5 separate regions of the Homo sapiens genome follow, and regions 1, 2, 4 and 5 are each linked to region 3. The links are contacts of gene promoters, found by promoter capture Hi-C in blood cells and fetal thymus (Javierre and others, 2016). All regions are on one chromosome and are shown on one strand. The core of a region is centred on a gene start or on the middle of the fragment in contact, and the rest is flanking DNA. Distances in the headings are between cores, read along the strand shown.

The links. The method cuts DNA at HindIII sites, captures the fragments that hold promoters and counts their contacts. A CHiCAGO score of 5 or more calls a contact.
Region 1: a fragment that was not itself captured here is called in contact with the fragment with the promoter of APOA5 in region 3 in 8 of 17 cell types (naive CD8 T cells, total CD4 T cells, naive CD4 T cells and 5 more); the score reaches 7.9 in naive CD8 T cells.
Region 2: a contact is called between a fragment that was not itself captured here and the fragment with the promoter of APOA5 in region 3, in 5 of 17 cell types (naive CD8 T cells, non-activated CD4 T cells, total CD8 T cells and 2 more). The highest score is 7.1, in naive CD8 T cells.
Region 4: a contact is called between a fragment that was not itself captured here and the fragment with the promoter of APOA5 in region 3, in 3 of 17 cell types (naive CD8 T cells, activated CD4 T cells and neutrophils). The highest score is 6.1, in naive CD8 T cells.
Region 5: a contact is called between a fragment that was not itself captured here and the fragment with the promoter of APOA5 in region 3, in 1 of 17 cell types (total B cells). The highest score is 5.4, in total B cells.

Annotation. Positions count from the first base shown.
Region 1 is chr11:117,033,272-117,036,104 of GRCh38, reverse strand. All of the region lies in intron 1 of SIK3 (SIK family kinase 3), which reads left to right. It also overlaps the pseudogene RPS27P19. Among named protein-coding and RNA genes, the nearest start is that of SIK3, 64 kb to the left of the region's middle. The HindIII fragment of the contact is 1,264 bases long and covers 631-1,894 here.
Region 2 is chr11:116,928,578-116,931,739 of GRCh38, reverse strand. All of the region lies in intron 3 of SIK3 (SIK family kinase 3), which reads left to right. Among named protein-coding and RNA genes, the nearest start is that of APOA1, 93 kb to the right of the region's middle. The HindIII fragment of the contact is 1,858 bases long and covers 901-2,758 here.
Region 3 is chr11:116,790,266-116,793,473 of GRCh38, reverse strand. APOA5 (apolipoprotein A5) reads left to right here and starts at 1,595. Exons shown (of 3, transcript NM_001371904.1): 1 at 1,595-1,662; 2 at 1,777-1,888; 3 at 2,407-3,208. The coding sequence starts at 1,614. The HindIII fragment of the contact is 6,000 bases long and covers 661-3,208 here.
Region 4 is chr11:117,002,357-117,005,559 of GRCh38, reverse strand. The region is part of intron 1 of SIK3 (SIK family kinase 3); the gene reads left to right. Among named protein-coding and RNA genes, the nearest start is that of SIK3, 94 kb to the left of the region's middle. The HindIII fragment of the contact is 1,556 bases long and covers 684-2,239 here.
Region 5 is chr11:116,956,672-116,959,718 of GRCh38, reverse strand. SIK3 (SIK family kinase 3) reads left to right here. Exons shown (of 25, transcript NM_001366686.3): 2 at 2,655-2,771. Among named protein-coding and RNA genes, the nearest start is that of APOA1, 120 kb to the right of the region's middle. The HindIII fragment of the contact is 1,562 bases long and covers 697-2,258 here.

The DNA of each region.
Region 1 (2,833 bases), core at 13-2,512, 240 kb before region 3:
ATAAAAAAAAAAAATTAACCTTTCCGGCGGTGATGACCTACCCACACGAGAACATGCCTCTTGCAAAGGGTCTCCTTCATCCCTCTCCAGAAAAGGAGAAGAGGAAACACAAGAAGAAACGCCTGGTGCAGAGCCCCAATTCCTGCTTCATGGATGTGAAATGCCCAGGATGCTATAAAATCATCACGGTCTTTAGCCATGCACAAACGGTAGTTTTGTGTGTTGGCTGCTCCACTGTCCTCTGCCAGCCTACAGGAGGAAAAGCAAGGCTTACAGAAGGATGTTCCTTCAGGAGGAAGCAGCACTAAAAGCACTCTGAATCAAGATGAGTGGGAAACCATCTCAATAAACACATTTTGGATTAAAAAAAAAAATTAAAACAATTAGCCGGGCATGGTGGCATGCACCTGTAGTCCCAGCTACTCTGGAGGCTAAGGTGGGAGGATCGCTTGAGCCTAGGAGCTCAAGGTTACAGTGAGCTATGATCACATCACTGCATTCCAGCCTGGGTGACAATAGCCCTATAATGTAGGTAGTTACTTTTATCTGCATTTTACAAATGAAAAGAACTGACAGACATTGAGTTAAAATAACCAGTACAAAAATCACAGATGGGGGATAGCCAAAGCTTTAAAATGGAATAGCAGGAAGTTTTAATTTGCAAATAGAATCATTAATGTTTAATAGAATCATTAATAGATTTAATAGAATTAATGAATTGATAGAATCATTAATTCATACTTAGTTTGGAGTGATTGTTGAACACATTTCTCAGCTAATTTAGGTCTTCATTATATTTTAGAACATATTATCTGCATCATTAAAAAATTCCTCATTTCCTCATTGCCTATCTCTGCCTTTTATTCACTCAGTTTTAAAATAAACAGATTTTGTTTATACTGCTTCTTTTATTAATATTTATGGTAAGATATTTTATACTGCTGATAAATGGACATTAATGATATATAGCCTATTGTTTGAAAAAAGCATTTTGGATTATAGCCCAGAACTGGAAACAACCAAGAGATAAATAAATGGTGGTATATTCATACAATAAAATATTACTCAGATAAAAAAGTTCAGTTCAAAACTTTCAGTTTTATCATTGCATTATTTGCAGTTGTAAAACATGGTAACATCACAACCTTATGTTACAAAGTTATTAAAAATATTAGCAAGGTACACTGATTGCTGTAGCCATGTTACAATTAAGCTAAAGGAATTTCTTGTTAACCAAAAGCAAAAAATAAGTTTGGTTTTTTTGGATCTTAATTGACTATTTATAATAGAACTTGCCTTTGGGTAGCGAACAGATTCACAAATGAAAGAGGAGATTCTGGAACTTACTGTATAATTCCAGGTAACTCTGTAAAGTTTGAAATGTAAAGACCATGCCTTAATACAATTGATAATTGGAATCGTGCTGGCATCTTCTTAACATCTCTTGCTTGTCTGTGGAGCATGGCATGATTACTTATACATTACTACATTTAGGAAACAGCCTTTATAAGACCCACTTTTTCTGAAGTTTTTGGTGTTACTCTTTTCTTAACCACCAGTACTGATCTCATTATGTTTTGGCCGACTTACTTGAGGGCATGCTAAAAAGTGATCTAAATACTTAATTTCTCCCTTCAATTGTGCATCGTGTTTTACAAATAAACCGTATCTTTACTTTCATTTACTTGCATGTCACTGAGAAAATTTGAGATCTTTAGCATTCATGTCCTTGCCTGAAGTATAAGGATTTCACATAATTTCAGCTTTTATCATTCAAGTCTTATAGATGCTTTTCTCTTGTCTCTGTTTTCAAATAATGGTGCTAATTATATTTAAGGGGCAGTATGTTTATTCAATATAGTTATAGTGTTAGCAGTGTAGGATTTAACAAGCTTTTCCTCTGGAATGTATACTAGTTCTTCATGTTCTATGTGATAACTTATACAGTGCTATGGTATTTTTGTTGTTAGATTTAAGTTTTCTTTGAATTTTTTTTCTGTCCATAATCTTAGGCTTTCTTTTTGTGCTTACTGTTTTTTTCTCCCCCAGAATGATACATGGCAGCGATTATAAATCTGTTTTATAAAACTTAACTTCATTAAACATATGAAGAACGTGGGATTATTTTTCTTGTCATAAAAGGTGACCTCCAGTGACAAATGGCTATTACATTATTTATGTGAGATTCCTTCATTTCATATACTGTTATCAATGTGTTTGATAATGGTTGAAGAACCAGTTGGTGTTGGTTTCTAATACTAATTAATAATTTGCCTTGAGCCTGATCAATCTTCTTATATCCATTATCAGATTTTTTTCTTCAAATCTGAAAATGTTTTCTTTTCTTTTCCTTTTCTTTTTTTTTCTTTTCTTTTCTTTCTTTTTTTTTTTTTTTTAGACGGAGTCTCGCTCTTTCCCCCCAGACTGGAGTGCAGTGGCGCAATCTCTGCTCACTGCAAGCTCCGCCTCCTGGCTTCACACCATTCTCCTGCCTCAGCCTCCTGAGTAGCTGAGACTACAGGCGCCCACCACGACGCCTGGCTAATTTTTTTTTGTTTTGTATTTTTAGTAGAGACGAGGTTTCACTGAGTTAGCCAGGATGGTCTTGATCTCTTGACCTCGTGATCCACCTGCCTTGGCCTCCCAAAGTGCTGGAATTACAGGTGTGAGCCACTGCACCCAGCTATTTTTTCTATATTTTTATGTAGTTCATTGAGGGTAATAATTTTATCCTACAACAAACATGTAAGTTATTGAAGAATATTGGAGTTTTATGATAATGCTGTCATAAATATAAAAGGTAGGGTAAGAGGGATCCAAATAGAGCTCACTT
Region 2 (3,162 bases), core at 580-3,079, 140 kb before region 3:
AAGAAGAAATGATAGAACTGAGTGGCAAAGCAAAGAACTACTAGCTGTGGTTAGTTTGGAATTGGCAGAAGTTTTTTCAGGTAGTCACCTAAGATGAAGATGAGCACACATACTGCCTTTTCCCTTTTCTAGGCTGGGTTCATTCTTCACTGAAATGTGGTATTTCTGCCTATTGCTTGTCCTGCTGTCAGGGTATGTTCATTTTCAGCTAGTGTTTTGCATCAACTATGAGTTGTAGACTTAGCAGACAAATGGAGACACTGTCTGTTTAGAGTGGAAAAGTGACTTATTTTAAGAAATGTTGGCTCCGCACCACTATCCCATTAGTGGCATACCTCTGACACTCCATTGAAGCTGGCCTAGGGAAGGTAAGACTGGCTTCTGTGTATTTTTGCTCTTTGAAAGGTCAGAACCTAAATGTACCACAAGATATTTTCTTCCTGAGTAAGATTGGGACAAAATTACAAACAGTGAATTCTGAAGCAAACTTACGTGCTGGTGCTCTAATACTTTAGAAAATTCAAAATCGATTTCCTGTACTTCTAACAATATTACTCTTCGTCGGGTATGTAAATCTCTTAGTGTCACTTACTTCTTTTCATTTTGCAAGGAAGGGCAGACCAAAAAGATTAAAGAAGACCAATGCCAAGTCATGGTCATGGGAAAGTGAGAAAGAGAATTTAAAAGTACTTTTTACTTTTTTTTACTTTGTTTTACTTTTTACTTTTGAAAAGCACTTGAAACAGGAGAACCATTTTTTTTCCTTTTAACCGAGAGTCACCTCATCCCTGTCTGGGTACATGTTTGGAGTGAAATTGTGGTCAAAGAAAACTTTAAATTTGTCCCAGACCTATAATGGCAACTAAATAGATAAGTAGTTGATTGATGGTGAAAAAAGCTTAGTGTGATGGACTTGACTTTATGCAGCAGGTGTCTACTTGAGGTTTGTTTAGATTGGTGGGGGTGGGGAGGGGGCAGGACTCTAGCTAGGGGCATGGCTGCAGTGTGGATGATTGGGATGAGGATATGGGTAGTATTTGTGTCTCAGTATTTAGGAGAGGTAGTTCACTGAATTGCCTGGAAGAAGCAGAACAACTCTGGAGTTCCTTGCAATTGGAGTTTATCCTGACAAGGTTCAACGTACATTTTACTTTGCGTATTGAGTGGATTCAGGAGCCATTTGGTTTCATTTGCCTTCTGAAAGTACTGCAGTATTTGTAAAAATGCTGTGACTATGTGTTAAGTCCAGGCTGGTCTACAGCTCTGGATTTCTTCACTGAAAGTTAAATATCACATTTGAACTTGAAGAATGTTTGCTGCCTGCCTCTAGAGCATATACGAATATAAAGCAGCTATTTGTCAGCAGGCAGCTGAAAGGCGATTTTCAGCAGGGAGTGAAAACCACTGCAGGCTGCTGGCTTCCTGGCACACCCACTAGACCTCGTAGGTTTACAGTGAAAGCAAACCAATGGGAGTAGGGGTTGGGGGGATAAGATGGGCAAAAATCAGGGCAGAGGCTGAGGTCTGAATGCGATTGAGCCACTGGAAGGAGCTTGCATGTGAAGAGCACAGTGCTCCCAAAGAGAAGAAAACTTGAACCCTAAACACAATGGCTAGGAGCAAATATCTAATGTGAACACTTTAAAAAAAAAAAGTGATTTGTTCCGTAAGTGTATTTAGAGTCCAGGGGAAAAAAAAAAGTGATTTGTTTATCTTCTTTGTATCTATAACTATAGGGGTACTGAAGGTAACTTTGGGGAAAGTATTATAGTTTAAGCTGTACTACCCAGTGCGCTGTTACAGCTACCTTTTAACCAGAACCATTAACAGTGACAATCGATGTGTAGAAAATCACCTTTAAGCTCTGCAGAATCCTGAAGGACTTTGTGCTCTATTGACTAGATGTTTAAGTATTCCCTATATAGTATTCAGTGGACCTTTTCAAAAATGTCTTTTGCAACATCTTTGAAAGTGAAAGTTTTAACGTATGATACTCTTAATCAGAGTACACGTTTATTCCCAAATATTCTGTTCTTTCTTTGGGTATAGCATGCAACAGAGTTTACTTGTATTTAGAAGATCAAGAGGTGGGGGTATTGGCAGGATAAATGATTTGTCCAGGGACAACTGATGTGTCACTGTAGAGATAAAACAGAACTAGGCTGCATTCCAGCAGCTTCTGGCCCGTATAACAGTTTTGAGAACTTTCCAATCACTTTAGGAAAACAAGGTACTTAGAAATTTATAAAGACTTTCTTAATAAAAGAAATCACTTATTTTGGAAATTGTGAAATTAATCATTCTGCAGCATTTAAGAAGCACTTTGATGTGTTCTGGTAATTAGTATTTACTGCCAGACAAATGTCTCTTGGGCATTTTAATTAATGGGTAGCTTGGCCAAATGAGCTTCTGATGGTAAACCTTCATAAGGGTTTATTTTTATGTTTCTCAAGAATAGCTGTCTCTTCAAAGCTCTTTAATTAGACAAGGTTTAGCAACTAAAACATATTATTAGAATAATTAGGCCTTGGGTTAAGAGAAATAGGGGGTCAGAGGAGCAGGTACTGTTAGAAAATGGCCTCTTAAAACATAGCATTCTACCTCTGATGGATGGCCAGTTCTTTCACAGCTTCTGTTAAGTTACTCTCCCTAGTTTGGACTTCGTGTTGTTTAAAGTTCATAGCAGACCTCACCGGAAGCCTAAACACACCCGAGTGGGAGCTTACTTATCCCCACCTCTGACCTCCCAGGGAAAGCTTGATTCTAGTCCTTTTAACTGCTAAGTGGAAGACTTCTTATTTTCTCCTTTTTCTTCTATTAAATCGATAATCTTGGCTATAACAATGACTTGTATTTTTGAGGGAGATGCTTCAAAAGCCTTGTGTGTGGCGAACAAAAATTACAATAATTCCTTTGAGGATCTTTCTTAATGATTTATATTATCTACATATAAGATATGTTCTTAAAGTGACTACAGTATTTGCATTCCAGAATGTTATATTTCTTGTGGTCAGAATGCAGTTTGAATTATTTTGCAATCTGCTCTGTAGATGGGCTGGCATCTAACTCCCCTTCTTCAACCTTCTCCCCTACCATTTCTTGCCACAAGCGCTCAGTCTTGGCAGTTATTGCTAGTAAATATGTGCTACCCTGAACTTCCTC
Region 3 (3,208 bases), core at 346-2,845:
GTGTGTATATATATACACACATATATATGTCCCTTGCAGCCAAGTCTAATTCTAACTAATACAAACTAACTCTAAAAAATGAATATATATTCACCAGGGGATAGGCTATTTCAAGCAGAGGGAAGCCTGTATAAAGGCTCAGGGAATGCCGTGGTTTTATGTGGCAGCAGATGAGACTGGAAATGAGTCAGGATGAGCCACAGTGGAGGATGAATTAAATGGGCAGGAGTGTGGTAGAAAGACCTGTTGGAGGCTATGAATGCAATCAAGGTGACAGACAACTGGTGCAATGATGGTAGTGGAAATGGAGGAGAGGGGATTGATTCAAGATGCATTTAGGACCAAGAATCGGGAGCTTGTGAACGTGTGTATGAGTACTGTAGACGGAGTGGGTGTGTCATCAGAGAAGATCTGAGCATTTGGGCTTGCTCTCCTCAGAGGCCCTGCGAGTGGAGTTCAGCTTTTCCTCATGGGGCAAATCTCACTTTCGCTCCAGTTCCTGGGGCTCAGAGTCCCTGGCCCAGATGCCTCTTGCCATCTCATCTTCACCCTGCCTGGCTTCCCTTGCTTGTTCCAGGATTGTTTCATAAAGAGGGATGTGGTTGGTCTTTAACCCTATGAATGCTGGCTGAGGATGCCTGCGGAACCTGTAGTGAAGCTTTCAGGGGCTGCTCGGGTTCTGGCTGGTAGGTGAACACTGTCCATCTTGCCGGCTGGGACACAGTGACTCTGGGTAGTTGTGTAAGAGAGGGGCCCTTGGCAGACAAACAGGTTCTTCTCTGTTGGTGGGCCAGCCAGCAGGTCAGTGGGAAGGTTAAAGGTCATGGGGTTTGGGAGAAACTGGGTGAGGAGTTCAGCCCCATCCCCCGTAAAGCTCCTGGGAAGCACTTCTCTACTGGGGCAGCCCCTGATACCAGGGCACTCATTAACCCTCTGGGTGCCAGGGAAAGGGCAGGAGGTGAGTGCTGGGAGGCAGCTGAGGTCAACTTCTTTTGAACTTCCACGTGGTATTTACTCAGAGCAATTGGTGCCAGAGGCTCAGGGCCCTGGAGTATAAAGCAGAATGTCTGCTCTCTGTGCCCAGACGTGAGCAGGTGAGCAGCTGGGGCAGAGGGATGGGGGTCACAGTCCTAAGGGAGGGCATTGCAGGTGGCCTCAGGGGAGAGCCTGGGGTGGCCCCTAAGACGTCCTCTTGGAACATTTTGGCAGAGTTGCCTCTTCGCCCTCATTATGGCTCAGTTTTTCCACCATGAAATGGGAGGGAGGGAGACAGGTGGGCAGGGGAGAGGTGGTAGAAGTGGCCTAGAGAACTGTTCCTGGGGTCTGGGACCTTTGCGAAGGGGTTAGAGCACCACGCTCCCTGCTATGTGACTGAGGTAGCAAGAGCACGCCCTCTTCCCATGTCTGAGGAAGACACCCTAGCCTCCTTGACTCACCTAGGTCAGTCCTCTTGAGCCCCAACAGCTCTGTGCTCCCCAGCCCAAGGAAGGGGTAACAGGATTTCGGGCAGTTGCCCCTGCAGAGGCCCCCTGGGCAAGTCCCCTGCGCCATGTCCCTTCGTCTCCTTCTTCCCCTAACCAGGCCTCCCTCCACCTGTCTTCTCAGAGCAGGTAATGGCAAGCATGGCTGCCGTGCTCACCTGGGCTCTGGCTCTTCTTTCAGGTGGGTCTCCGACCCTGACTTCAACGTGGGGGTGTGGGTGGAGGCTGGCCAGAGGGCCCTGTCCACCCTGGGGGAGGAGAGCCCAGGCCCTGATTACCTAGTCCCTCTCCACAGCGTTTTCGGCCACCCAGGCACGGAAAGGCTTCTGGGACTACTTCAGCCAGACCAGCGGGGACAAAGGCAGGGTGGAGCAGATCCATCAGCAGAAGATGGCTCGCGAGCCCGCGTGAGTGCCCAGGGGAAGGGGTGTAGGCGAAGGGAGGAGACAGCTGGGCCATGCCATGATGACCTGCCTCTGCTGCCTCAACCTCTGTGGCCGCTGCTGGGACAGAGGAAAGGAGCGGTGCTAGCTCTGTCTGCAGATCCCGGCCATCCTGGGCTCTTTAGCGCCCTCTGCCTGCAGCCCCCGCCTTGACAACTCCGTAGCTGTTGCCCCCTTGCTCACTGAGGCGCGGGACCTGGGATCAATCGGGAGGACGCCCGCTGCAGTCCCCAGAATCAAAGGATGATGTGGCGCATCTATGTTTCTTTGGAGAGTGTTGTAGGTCTGGATTTGTATGGGCAATGTGTTTGTGCTTCGTGCGTGAGTTGTTACTGGCCAGGGCTAGGACAAGAGCCCTCGACCCTGGGGCCAACGCCCTGCGTCCTTGGTTCCCCCAGAGGATCAGTGCGCGATGACTTGGGGACAAAGGAGATGATGGAGGCTAGCAGTCTGACGGCCTGGATATCTGTCCCCTTCTCCAGGACCCTGAAAGACAGCCTTGAGCAAGACCTCAACAATATGAACAAGTTCCTGGAAAAGCTGAGGCCTCTGAGTGGGAGCGAGGCTCCTCGGCTCCCACAGGACCCGGTGGGCATGCGGCGGCAGCTGCAGGAGGAGTTGGAGGAGGTGAAGGCTCGCCTCCAGCCCTACATGGCAGAGGCGCACGAGCTGGTGGGCTGGAATTTGGAGGGCTTGCGGCAGCAACTGAAGCCCTACACGATGGATCTGATGGAGCAGGTGGCCCTGCGCGTGCAGGAGCTGCAGGAGCAGTTGCGCGTGGTGGGGGAAGACACCAAGGCCCAGTTGCTGGGGGGCGTGGACGAGGCTTGGGCTTTGCTGCAGGGACTGCAGAGCCGCGTGGTGCACCACACCGGCCGCTTCAAAGAGCTCTTCCACCCATACGCCGAGAGCCTGGTGAGCGGCATCGGGCGCCACGTGCAGGAGCTGCACCGCAGTGTGGCTCCGCACGCCCCCGCCAGCCCCGCGCGCCTCAGTCGCTGCGTGCAGGTGCTCTCCCGGAAGCTCACGCTCAAGGCCAAGGCCCTGCACGCACGCATCCAGCAGAACCTGGACCAGCTGCGCGAAGAGCTCAGCAGAGCCTTTGCAGGCACTGGGACTGAGGAAGGGGCCGGCCCGGACCCCCAGATGCTCTCCGAGGAGGTGCGCCAGCGACTTCAGGCTTTCCGCCAGGACACCTACCTGCAGATAGCTGCCTTCACTCGCGCCATCGACCAGGAGACTGAGGAGGTCCAGCAGCAGCTGGCGCCACCTCCACCAGGCCAC
Region 4 (3,203 bases), core at 212-2,711, 210 kb before region 3:
TGACTTCAAAATCTGTGCATTGATCTCTACTGAGTCTGAAGGTTACTGACCCAGTGAACCAGTCACTGTTCTGTTTCTAAGAAACGTTTAGGTTCTGGCTCTTGCAGGGATCTTTATAGTCCTGTATTTGCAAAAACACCTCCCACCTCCATGCTTTCCTTTTACCATTTAAAAATGTTTGTGAAGATCTTTTTTATCTTTTTTTTTTTTTTTTTTTTTTTTTCTGAGACGGGGTCTCGCTCTGTCACCAGGCTAGAGTGCAGTGGTGCGATCTCGGCTCACTGCAGCCTTCACCTCCTGGGTTGGCCAGGCTGGTCTCGAACTCCTGACCTCAGGTGATCTGCCCGCCTCAGCCTCCCAAAGTGCTGGGATTACAGGTGTGAGCCACCATGCCCAGCCCACATTTTGTTTTTATATTCTGAGTATTATATAGTAAAAAAGGAGAAGAGTTCATTGATACAGTCTTTTAAAAACTGATCTCAATGATATAGTAGGAAAAACACTGGATTAGGAGATAGGGGTTTTAAGTTCTAATCCTGCCTGGCTGTGCCCTTAACTAGCTGTATGAGACTAGGCAACATTTACCATTTCCTTCCCAATTAAATTGAGGTAGCCGTACTAGATTTATCTAACATGCCTTTCATTGCTCACATCATGCGACATTAAGCTTTAATTAGAAAGCTTTGGTTTTGGGACCTCTTTGTTTTCCCATAGGCTTTAACCTTGTTTCCTTTCTTATTGCCCAGCAGGAATTGGACTAGAGTTGGCCAAAGGTGGGATGAGGAGAAGAGGTAGGAATCTTACAAGAGTTGGTTGGAGTAAAGTTATTGACAGGTGGGAAGAAGTATTCCTGTGACTCTGTGGTTGTTCCCTTGTAAGATTTGAAGGAAAGTAATGAGTCAGGTCTTAATAATAGTGCCTCTATGTTATTTCCTCCACCCCATTATCTTTTGTCAGAATTGATTAGCAAAATGCACTTACCCAAGTATTTTCAGGGTCCCTGTTTGGATAGTCTAAATAACGTTGTTCTTTTTTTTTGTTTTGGAGACAGGGTCTCACTTTGTCACCCAGGCTGGAGTGCAGTGGCACAATCTTGGCTTACTGCAGCCTCGACCTTCTGGGCTCAAGCAATCCTCCCACCTCATCCTCCTGAGTAGCTGGGACCACAGGTGTGCACCATCACGCCTGGCTAATTTTTTGTATTTTTTGTAGAGATGGGGTTTCACCATGTTGCCCAGGCTGGTCTCAAACTCCTGGGCTCAAGCGATCTGCCCACCTCGGCCTCGCAACATGCTGGGATTACAGGTGTGAGCCACTGCTCCCTGCCTTTAGTTACCTTTATCAACCTATGGTCCTAAAGGTAGATTCATTGAACTTGCCTGTCAGTGCTTAAGGATCAGTCCTGTCTTAGTTCAGACAAGTTAAATTCAGGGTTGCATTCTGTCAACTTTGTTTCTAATCAGTGGATGATCAGATGATATTTGGAGAGGATTTTTAATATATGTGAATCTTATGGTGGCATTCTGTTACTTAATAAATACTTTAATTTCTTAGCTTTTTTCCCCATATTCTCCATAATTTTTGTAGATAGATGCTCAGACGAAGGCAGCAGTAGCACATGGATAATCAGAGTTTTTTGTTTGTTTGTTTTAACATTTCTCGTTAAAGTATAATGTTCAGCAATGGGGACCAATCTATACTCCTCATCTGTAGTCTGTCAATAAATAGGTTGCTCCGACTTTAAATTCTCAGCTTGAATTGTTTCTTTTTTGTGTGTGGAATTTATGACCCTCTGTGATGTTGACCCTACCTAAAGCAAGTAGAATAGCTACACCAGCAAAATGAAATACCATAACAACAACGTATGCTTATGTTTATATAGTGCTTACTGTGTGCCTGGCATGGCATTGAATAAATATATATATTTAATAAATAGAGTTGGGGTCTCGCTTTGTTGCCTACCTTGTGTTGAACTCCTGGCCTCAAGTGATCCTTCTGCCTCCGCCCCGTCAAAGTGCTAGGATTACAGGCATGAGCCACTGCTCCCAGCCAGCATTGAATATATTTTTTTTTTTATTTCATCCTGAGAACAACCTTATGAGGTACTTTCAGGTCATACTTTTATTACCCTCATTTTATACTAGAAAAATTGTGCTTTAAGATGTTAAGCAAATTGCCCAAAGTGCAAAACCAGTGTGTTGGAGCTTGAATTCCAAACCAGATCTGCCTGAGTCAAGCTTTTCTTTTATGTTCTTATTTACTAAAGGCTTCTTGAACAGAAGTATGTGAGAGTTGGGCACATGCAGCTTGGTCAATTCTATGTAAACCCGGTCAGATTCTGAGTAGTGTAGATCTGATAAAGTCAATGTGAATTTCTTATCATTCGTTGCAAGAGACTTAATGTAGCAAAAATCAGTATCATAGGAAACGAGATGTTACTGTGGTAGGCACACTGTTCTCTCTCAGCTACCTCATTTTTGTTGTTATTGGTGGTGGCTATTGCTCTGGCAACTACAAAGGCAGCATTTACTTGACACGGCGTGTATGCTTAAGGCAGAACACTGACTGCTTTTCATTGCTGGCAAATCCGGACTTCATCAGTACTGGCTACCTGTAAGGAATGTGAGCATGTTGGATTTTAGAACAGGAAAAACACAACTTCCACCTCATTTCACAGTAGAGTTCACTTAGGGATACAGACTTTTTGGTGACAGTAACTGTTACTTTCTGCTTATTAATTCAGATACTTGCATAATGCTAACCTGGTAGATATTGTCAGATGACAAGCCTTCCTCCTACATGTTCTCTATAAAAGAACTGCTAGTGACAAGCATTTTATTATATTAAAAATTCTACTTCATACTGTTTTAAGTTAAAATGTATTTATTATGAAGCCAATATTGTGAAATGTTTTTTTCTTTTTCCAGAATGTGGTTTTTTTTTCTTGTAATGGACTAAGATGCAGGCTTATTGTGTAGAATGAGGAGCTATTGCCCAGATGGACCTTAGTGAAAGTAACTTAAATAAGCAAGTAGATTTTGCTTCTGTTTGGGAAAATGATCTAAGACGGATGCTGGTATTTTGGGCAGGTGGAGACTAATGTTTTATCTCAATGTTTGCAACTTAAGTTCAGCCTACTTAAGGGCTGTCCCTTAAGGGTGTCCAATTGTTTGGCTTCCCTGGCCACACTGGAAGAATTGTGT
Region 5 (3,047 bases), core at 228-2,727, 170 kb before region 3:
ACACAATCTCTGTTTACCATTATGAAGATCCTATTGCTTCAGAATGCAAATGAAATTTAGAGTGAGTGCCTTGTGAATCAGGGAGGCCCCACTATATGACTCCCTGTGATCTCTTGGAGGTGAAAGAATGCACAAATTTCATAAGTTAACCTGAAGGTCACCCGCTTTTCCCCAGTTACATTGTACATGCCATCAATTAGTAGGGGGTGGGCAGAGGTGGAAGATTTCAGGCACAGGCCTTAGACAGTTGATGCCCTCTGTTATTAAGGTAAATAAATCCTAGCAGTTCTTCCCACCTTTTGCACATCATGGCATGCACAGAAAGTTGAGATTGGAGGTGATCCATTATTGCTTGTAACCCATTTCCAACACACTTGTTTGGAAGTTCTTTTTTTTTCTTTTGAGACAGGGTCTCATTCTGTTGCTGGCACGATCATAGCTCACTGCAACTTCAGCTCCCGGGATCAAACTGTCCTTCCACCTCAGCCTCCTGAGTAGCTGGGACTACAGACACATGCTACCATGCTCGGCTAATTTTTAAAAAGTTTTTTAGTAGAGATGGGGTTTCACCATATTGCCCATGCTGGTCTTGAACTCCTGGACTCAATCAGTCTGCCCTCCTTGGCCTCCGAAAGTGCTGGGATTACAGCTGTTTGGCAGCTCTGCTATGGGGATATATCTGCAAGTTTCTAAGCTTGTTATATTTATGAAAGCATTCTGTACATTACAAGGTGCCATTCACATGTAAGATTTTATTAATAATGACTATTAAGACCAAGCTATTTGTTCTAGGAAGAGACATTGTGTACCATGATTTTTTTTGTTGTTGTTTTGGGAGCTGTCCTGAGAGAAGCAGGAGCAGATGCTAGACCAGTTGTGGAGTTAAGGTCTTGTATGTGATCTGGTGCAGTAATGAGGAGAAGTAGAAATGCAGGTGGTCAAGGGTTATATTATCCAAGACTTCTTACAGGAAACCAAGCAGCTGGTGAGATCCTCATTAAATTCTCTACCTTCTTCTCTGCCTATCCCAGTTCTCTCTGTAGTGAAATTCTGCTTTCTTTGTCAAGTCTTTCCCAGACTTTTTCTACCTCTTCTCCTGTAGGTGAAGGTCATTCACCATCCTCTGTCTGTTGTTATACCTGGTACATAGCTCCATTGCTTGTACTTCCAATGCTGCATTGTTTTCAGTTCCACACATCTTTTTTCCTTTTTAGACTGTGATCTCCTTGAAGTTTAGGCTGTGTCTGATTAATCCTTGTAGCTCCAGCCACACCCAGCTCCTTTCATCACACTCCCTCGTTAGGCATGGCTTGAATGCTCTTTGAGTACAGCTGAAATTTATCTCCCTGTGCCTTTCTCCCGTGGGTCCTCATTTTAACACCTGAAACAGCTTCAGATAAAGTTACTTTTATGCCAGCCATTTATACATCTGAATAATCTGCCACGTATGGCTCCAAACAGTCTTTATTTCTCTGAGCTAAACATTTTTACTTTTGTAATTTTGTTTTCCTGATTTTTTCCTCAGTAAGTACTGTATATGTTCCCTTTACCTCTCTGGTGCATAGAATCTTAGAATGTTAAGATTTGGAGAGGACTAGAGTTTGACTAGTCTAGGTTCTTCATCTAACCAGTATTGCTTCCATACTGATTACATAATTGAAACTGAGATATAGACATATTTTGGAGCAACACAAATATTTTAAGTATTTCACTGAGGAAGTTTAGATTTAGTAAATTTTTAAAAGTCCTTCATCGTTCATTCTTCATTAAAATGTATTTGCTGATGAGTATCTTATTAAAAGGGGGCACATTGGAAAGATATGTTTTATGATGCAGTGCATGTATGCTAAAGAAAGATCTTCAGATTCTTATAACATTCTTATTAAGAATTTGATTCTAAAGCCAAGCTACCTAGGCTTCAATCCTGCACCTGCCACATACTAGGTGTAAATTACTTAATCTTGGGTTAATTACTTAATCTCTGTGTGCCTCAGTTTCTGTATTTCTAAAGCAAGGTTAATGATAAGGTGGGTGTTAGGAGGTTTAAATGAGTTAGTACTTCCAAACCACTAAGAGTTATGCCTGGCCCATAGTAAACATTTCGTATATGGTAGATGCTGCTACTGCTGCTGCCACCACCATCACTGCTACTATTATTATTATTATTGAGTTCTACAAGCATCTGGTGAGATGTGTAAAGCCCCTGTGAAAGTTCTCATAGAACCTTAGTAAGACACCATGTATTTATGATACAAGCTTCTTGCCTTTTTAAAAATTTTTTATTTTATTTAAAGCTTCTTGTCTTAATGAGAGACCCTGTATACCACTCTGCACTGAAACATGATTTGACCCAGACCGTAACGACATCTATGGAGTAATAAAGTATTTTTTCATAGGATTTTACCGTATAAGCAATTGAAGAAATGGCAGAAGACCCATTAGCTTTTGGAGTCTGTTCCTTTGAGACCAACTTGCTAGGAATCCATTTCCTATCTTTTTAAAAAGAGTAAATTAATTTTCCTCATTGACATTCTGTAAACAGAATACTGGCAGCTTATATTTTATGGAACGTAATGTTTTAAAGTGAACCTAATTTTTCTTAGTAAACTGCTTTTAATAATGCATCAGAGTAATTTTTTTCCCTCTGTTGTCAGGTTGCTATCAAGATCATAGATAAGACCCAGCTGGATGAAGAAAACTTGAAGAAGATTTTCCGGGAAGTTCAAATTATGAAGATGCTTTGCCACCCCCATATCATCAGGCTCTACCAGGTAGGATCATTAGTGTATAGCAGATAGCTGCAAAGAACCCAGAATATTGTATGTATGGCTCCCTTTGAAGAAATGTGGGTGGGTGAACATCTGTGACTTTTTTTGTTTCTATGTTAATCCTGCTATCTTTCCTACCCTTCTGTTTACGCGCTCAGCACTTAGTATCCTCAAGTTTCCCCTGGCCATTTACTAGTACGTTTTCCTTACCCAGGTAGGTCTTTTTAATTTGTTCTTTAAAATTTGATGCCATTCTTAGCAACAACTACACAAAATGTT